Regions from separate parts of the Homo sapiens genome. Here region 1 is linked to region 2. Evidence: promoter capture Hi-C in human tissues and cell types (Jung and others, 2019). All regions are on one chromosome and are shown on one strand. Each heading gives the region's core, a stretch centred on a gene start or on the middle of the fragment in contact. The rest is flanking DNA. Distances are from core to core; before and after follow the strand shown. Region 1 overlaps ABHD8 (abhydrolase domain containing 8). Region 2 holds the start of TMEM221 (transmembrane protein 221).

Evidence for each region. Contacts are between HindIII fragments. The study calls those that stand out against the background at their distance.
Region 1: a fragment that was not itself captured here is called in contact with the fragment with the promoter of TMEM221 in region 2 in 2 of the 25 tissues and cell types used here (lymphoblastoid cells and mesenchymal stem cells).

The regions. Positions count from the first base shown.
Region 1 is chr19:17,299,256-17,302,084 of GRCh38, forward strand. It overlaps ABHD8 (abhydrolase domain containing 8), which reads right to left. Exons shown (of 5, transcript NM_024527.5): 2 at 1,601-2,369. The coding sequence starts at 2,361. It also overlaps a transcript of MRPL34 not described here. Among named protein-coding and RNA genes, the nearest start is that of ABHD8, 2.8 kb to the right of the region's middle. RefSeq lists enhancers at 1,706-2,206, 2,207-2,707. The HindIII fragment of the contact is 7,858 bases long and covers 1-2,829 here.
Region 2 is chr19:17,446,969-17,450,006 of GRCh38, forward strand. It overlaps TMEM221 (transmembrane protein 221), which reads right to left and starts at 1,700. Exons shown (of 3, transcript NM_001190844.2): 1 at 1,175-1,700. The coding sequence starts at 1,494. RefSeq lists a silencer at 1,714-1,833. The HindIII fragment of the contact is 11,612 bases long and covers 1-3,038 here.

The DNA.
Region 1 (2,829 bases), core at 284-2,783, 150 kb before region 2:
AATTTTTTTTTGAACTTGAAAATTGGCCTGGTGCGTTGGCTCACGCCTGTAATCCCAGCGCTTTGGGAGGCCGAGGAGGGCGAATCACGAGGTCAGGAGATCGAGACCATCCTGGCTAACACGGTGAAACCCCGTCTGTACTAAAAAGACAAAAAATTAGCCAGGCATGGTAGCGGGTGCCTGTAGTCCCAGCTACTAGGGAGGCTGAGGCAGGAGAATGGCATGAACCTGGGAGGTGGAGCTTGCAGTGAGCCAGGATCACGCCACTGCACTCCAGCCTGGGGGACAGAGTGAGACTCCATCTCAAAAAAAAAAAAAAAAAAAAAAATTAAGGCTGAGCACAATGACTCACACCTGTAGTCCTAGCACTTTGGGAGGCTGAGGTGCAAGGATCACTTGAGCCCAGTAGTTAAAGAACATCTTGGGCAACATAGTGAGATGCCATCTCTATTTAAAAGAAAAAAAAATTTTAAAAATGTAAAAATTAAATTGAAAAATGGGATTTTTTTCAAGGAGAAAAATTAGGATTTTTGTTTGCTTTGTTTTGTTTTAGGAGATAAGGTTTTGCCATGTTGTCCAAACTCATCTCCAATGATCCATCCACAAAGTGCTGGGATTACAAATGTGCACCACCGCGCGTGGTGGCCCCTTTTTTTTTTTTCATGACGGAGTCTCCTTCTGTCGCCCAGGCTGGAGTGCAGTGGCACAATATGATCTTGGCTCACTGCAAGCTCCGTCTCCCGTGCTCATGCCATTCTCCTGCCTCAGCCTCCCGAGTAGCTGGGACTATAGGTGCCCACCACCACACCCAGCTAATTTTTTGTATTTTTAGTAGAGACAGGGTTTCACCGTGTTAGCCAGGATGGTCTCAATCTTCTGACCTCGTGATCCGCCCGCCTCAGCCTCCCAAAGTGCTGGGATTACAGGCGTGAGCCACCGCGCCCGGATTTTTTTTTCTTTTTTAAAGAGCGACAGGTTCTTGCCATGCTGCCCAGGCTGGAGTGCAGTGGTGTGATCACAGTTCACTGCAGCCTCGACCTCCCAGACTCAAGCAATCTCCTGCCTCAGCCCTTAAGTAGGTGGAACTATATGCGTGCACCTCCTCACCTAGCTAATGTTTGTACTTTTTGTAGAGCTAGGGGGTTCTCCCTATGTTGCCCAGGCTGGTCTCAAACTCCTTGCCTCAAGATATCCTCCCGCCTTGGCCCCCGAAAGCACTGGGATTACAGGTGTCAGTGGCATCTCAGAGTCTCCCTCTGTCGCCCAGGCTGGAGTGCAGTGACACAATCTCGGCTCACTGCAACCTCCACCTCCTCGGTTCAAGTGATTCCTCTGCCTCAGCCTCCCGAGTAGCTGGGACTACAGGCGCGTGCCACCACGTCTGGCTAATTTTTGTATTTTTGGTAGAGACGGGGTTTCACCACCTTGGCCAGACTGTTCCCGAACTCCCAACCTCAGGTGATCCGCCTGCCTCGGCCTCCCAAAGTGCTGGGATTACAGGCGTGAGCCACGGGGCTCAGCCAAAAACTCAGTATTTTGTGACTGTAGTCCCTGCTGACCCCATCCCTCACCCCCACCCCACATGCCAGGGTTCACTTACCCGTAGGAATGGCCAATGAGCACATTTCGCTTCTTGGCATAGCGCTTGAAGATTGCTCGCATGTCCTCAGCCAGCGCATAGAAGGTGTAGGCTGCGGCCACCTGGGGCGCAGAGCTGGCCCCGTGGCCGGCCAGGTCAGGAGCCACCACCTCATAGCCTAGGCGCACAAAGAAGTCCAGCTGCTCCTTCCAGATGGCCAGGGAACCGCCGACACCATGGATGAAAAAGAGCACCACGTCGGCCTGGGCGCCTTTGCAGCTAGTGATGCGCTTCTCACAGTCAATATGGATGGTCCTCTTGGGGCGCCTGGCTCGCCGCCGCCGCCCACCACTGCCACTGCCGCTGCCGCTGCCTGCGCTGCCGGGGGCCAAGCGGCCATCGCTGCCCGCCGGATCTGCCAGCTCCACCTCCAGGGCGGCCGGCGGCTCCCCAGAGCCATTCTGCCCGTGTAGGAGGTCGGCTCGAGGGGCTCGGCCCAGGTTTTCCACCAGCAACCGCCCATTGCGGTACACGGTGATCCGGCGCTGACAGCGGACCAAGCCGGAGAGGTCCCCCTGGGCTGCATCCGAGGATGCGGATGATGGTGGAGGTGGGGCAGCGGCTGGGGCGGGTCCTGCATGCTTCACCCGCAGCACGCGGCCGGGCTTGACCTCTACAAAGGTGTAGCCATCGCTGGACTCGACGCTCTCCAGTGGCCCCACGGCGTTGGGGGGCGTGCCCAGCAGGCAACAGAAGATACCGTCGGTCACCCCGGTCAGCATGGTGTGTCCTGTGAGTGAGGACAGCAGCCAGTTCAGGTGCTGTCTCAATGAGAACCCTGCACCGTGCAGCAGGCACTCCCTGAGCCTTGGGAGAACTGTTTTAGACTCCAGTTTGGGGAGCGCCAGATCAAGTGAGCCACGGCACTGAGATTTTTTTGTTTGTGTGTGTGTGTGTGTGTGTGTGTGTGTGTGTTTTTGAGACAGTCTCGCTTTGTCATCCAGGCTGGAGGGCAGTGGCCGGATTTCGGCTTACTGCAACCTCCCCCTCCTGGGTTCAAGCGATTCTCTTGCCTCAGCCTCCTGAGTAGCTGGGATTATAGGCAGGTGCCACCATGTCTAGCTAATTTTTGTATTTTTTGTAGAGATGGGGTTTCACCATGTTGGCCAGGCTGGTCTTGAACTCCTGACCTCAAATTTTCCTCCTGCTTCGGCCTCCCAAAGTGCTGGGATTATAGGTGTGAGCCACCG
Region 2 (3,038 bases), core at 450-2,949:
CCCAGCACTTTGGGAGGCCAAGGTGGGTGGGTCATTTGAGGTCAGGAGTTCAAGACCAGCCTGGCCAACATGGTGAAACCCCGCCTCTACTAAAAATACAAAAATTAGCTGGGTATGGTGGTGGGCACCTGTAATCCCAGCTACTCGGGAGGCTAAGGTGGGAGAATCGCTTGAACCCAAGAGGTGGAGGCTGCAGTGAACCGAGATAGCGCCACTGCACTCCAGCCTGGGTGACAGAGCAAGACTCTGTCTCAAAAAAAAAAAAAGAAAAAAAAATTCCTGGCCTCAAATGATCCTCCTGCCTCTGCCTCCCAAAGGGCTGGGATTGCAGGTGTGAACCACCATGCCTTGTCCTTGTTATGTTTCCTTATTTTCTGTGACCCCATGAGAGCAGGTCTGGGTCCACTTGGTCCCCGCTGTCTCTGATGCCCTGAGCCAGATCCATTCCCCTGCAGGCAGGCACCCAACAGATGTTTGCTGACCCGTGGGACCCATGCATTTCATTGTCCCTTGGGTGGAAGGTGCATGGTCTGGATAGGATCTACCTCAATGGTGGGAGTTCTCATCTGCTCAATTTCACAGAATTCTGGACTAGAATTTGGGCTCCTCTCCCCCGACATTCTGGAGAGAAACACTACCATGTGGGACAGCGGAGTCCTCAGCTCAAGGAGGGTTCCTCCTTCCACAACCACTGCCCCTGATAGGGGTCCCTCAATGACCACATCCCTGACTGAGTTCAGGTCCCTGAGGAAGGAACTCAATTTCAGACCAGGACACAGGCTCTGGCTGGCTCTACCCAGAACCAAGTTCAAGTCCAGCACTGTCCCGCCTCCCACCCACTTCCAAGCCAGACAGCCTGAGAGCTCAGCCTCCCCTGTTTGAGATCCAGGCAAGCTGATCCTGGACCCTCTTTGAGCCTCAGTTTCCTCATCTGCAAAATGCGAGACACAGCAGTGGTTGCACCTGCTGCAAAATTGAACAAATATAGAATGGAGGGAGGGAAGGAGGGAGGAGGAGAGGAAAGGAGGGAGGCAGAGAGACATGGAGTGGTGGGGAGAGGGAAGTGGGGAGGGAAGCTGTCCCCCCAGCCTGAGGCCAAAAGAGGGGAAGAGGCTCAACCAGGCTCACCCAGCCCCCAGCCGGGCCTCCGAGGCGGTGAGGCCAGTCCTCCTACCTCCTGGGGCCAGGCCCCCGCGCCAGCTCGGCGCCCAGGTGGCCACAGAGCGCGGCGAGCAGCAAGCAGGTGAACCCCAGCACGAGCACCAGCGCGGCCAGCGCGGCGGCCAGCGGCAGCAGCGTCCCGGCCGCGTCCTCTGGCAGCCCGGGGCCGGCGCCCAGCTCCTGGCCCAGCCCCTCGGCGCGCAGCCCCCGCAGCTCGGCGCGGCCCGCCTGCAGCTGAAACAGCAGCTGCGCGCCCAGCGCCGCCAGCACGGCCGCCGCGATGCCCAGCAGGGTCATTGCAGCCAGCACCCGGCCGCCGTAAGAACGGGCCATGGCGGGGGTTCCTGCGGGCCGGGGGAAGAGTTGAGGAATTGAAGTGGTTTTAGAGGGCAGGGGAGTTGGGGGGAATCCGAGGGTCCTCAGGGGGTCCCCGAGGGGGCGGGGCCGCAGGGAGTGTCTGAAAGTTCGGGGACTGGGCTGGGGGTCGCCAGACGGACGGGGGCTCCGGGGTGCTGGTCGCAGCCGGGACGCCGAATCTCCGCGAAAACTTGGGACAAAGTCTTTTCTCCTCCCTCCCGGGGCCCCGCGGGCGCCCCCTCTTGGTCCGCTGGGCCTGGCGGGGCGGGGCCTGGCACCGGGCGCAGGGCGGGGAGGCCCCACTAGGGACTGGATCGCGGGAACCCCACAGCTCGCTAAGTTCAGAAAAGGGCACCACCCCGCCCCCTGCCGCCCTAAGCATCGATTGTATTGTGGTTTAAAACAAGAAAAAGGAGGCCGGGGGCGGTGGCTCTCGCCTGTAATCCCAGCACCTTGGGAGGCCGAGGCGGGCGGATCACAAGGTCAAGAGTTCCAGACCAGCCTGGCCAATATGGTGAAACCCCGTCTCTACTAAAAATACAAAAATTAGCCGGGCGTGGTGGCCGGAGCCTGTAATCCCAGCTACTCGGGAGGCTGATGCAGGAGAATTGCTTGAACCCAGGAGGCGGAGGTTTCAGTGAGCTGAGATTACGCCATTGCACTGCAGCCTGGGCGACAGAGCGAGACTCCGTCTCAAAATTAATTAATTAATTAATTAAAAAATAAAAAATAAAGAGAAAGGAGGCCGGGCGCGGTGGCTCTCGCTTGTAATCTCAGCACTTTAGGAGTCCGAGGTGGGCGGATCACTTGAGGTCAGGAGTTCAAGACCAGCCTGGCCAACATGGTGAAACCCCCGTCTCTACTAAAAAAAAAAAAAAAAAAAAAAATTAGCCCGGCGTAGTGGTGCATGGCCTGTAATCCTAGCTACTCGGGAGGCTGAGGTTGGAGGAATGCTTGAATCAGGGAGGCGGAGGTTGCAGTGAGCCGAGATTGCACCACTGCACACTCCAGCCTGGCTGACAGAGTAAGACTCCATCAAAAAAAAAAAAAAAAAAAAAGAGAGAGAGAGAGAAAGGGCTGGGTGAGGTGGTTCACAACTGTAATCCCAGCACTTTGGGAGGCTGAGGCAGGAGGATGGCTTAAGCCCAGGAGTTTGAGACCAGCCTGGGCAACATAGCCAGACCCCATCTCTACAAAAAATAAGGAAGTCAGCCTGGTGTGGTGGTGCACGCCTGTGGACCCAGCTACTTTCGGGACTGAGACAGGAGGATCGCTTGAGCCCAGGAGGTCGAGGCTGCAGTGAACTGAGATCACGCCACTGCACTCCAGCCTGAGTGACAGAGCGAGGCTGTGTCTCAAAAAAGAAATAACAAAATTTAAAAATTCACTTTTCATTTGATCTCAACCCAGGGACTCTGTCATTGGCTGTGATTTCCCCTCTGCTTACTTCCTTCAAGCCTTTGGGTAACCGTTGCTTCCTCTAGGAGGCTAGGGAGAATCCTGGATCCCTTCCCCAACTG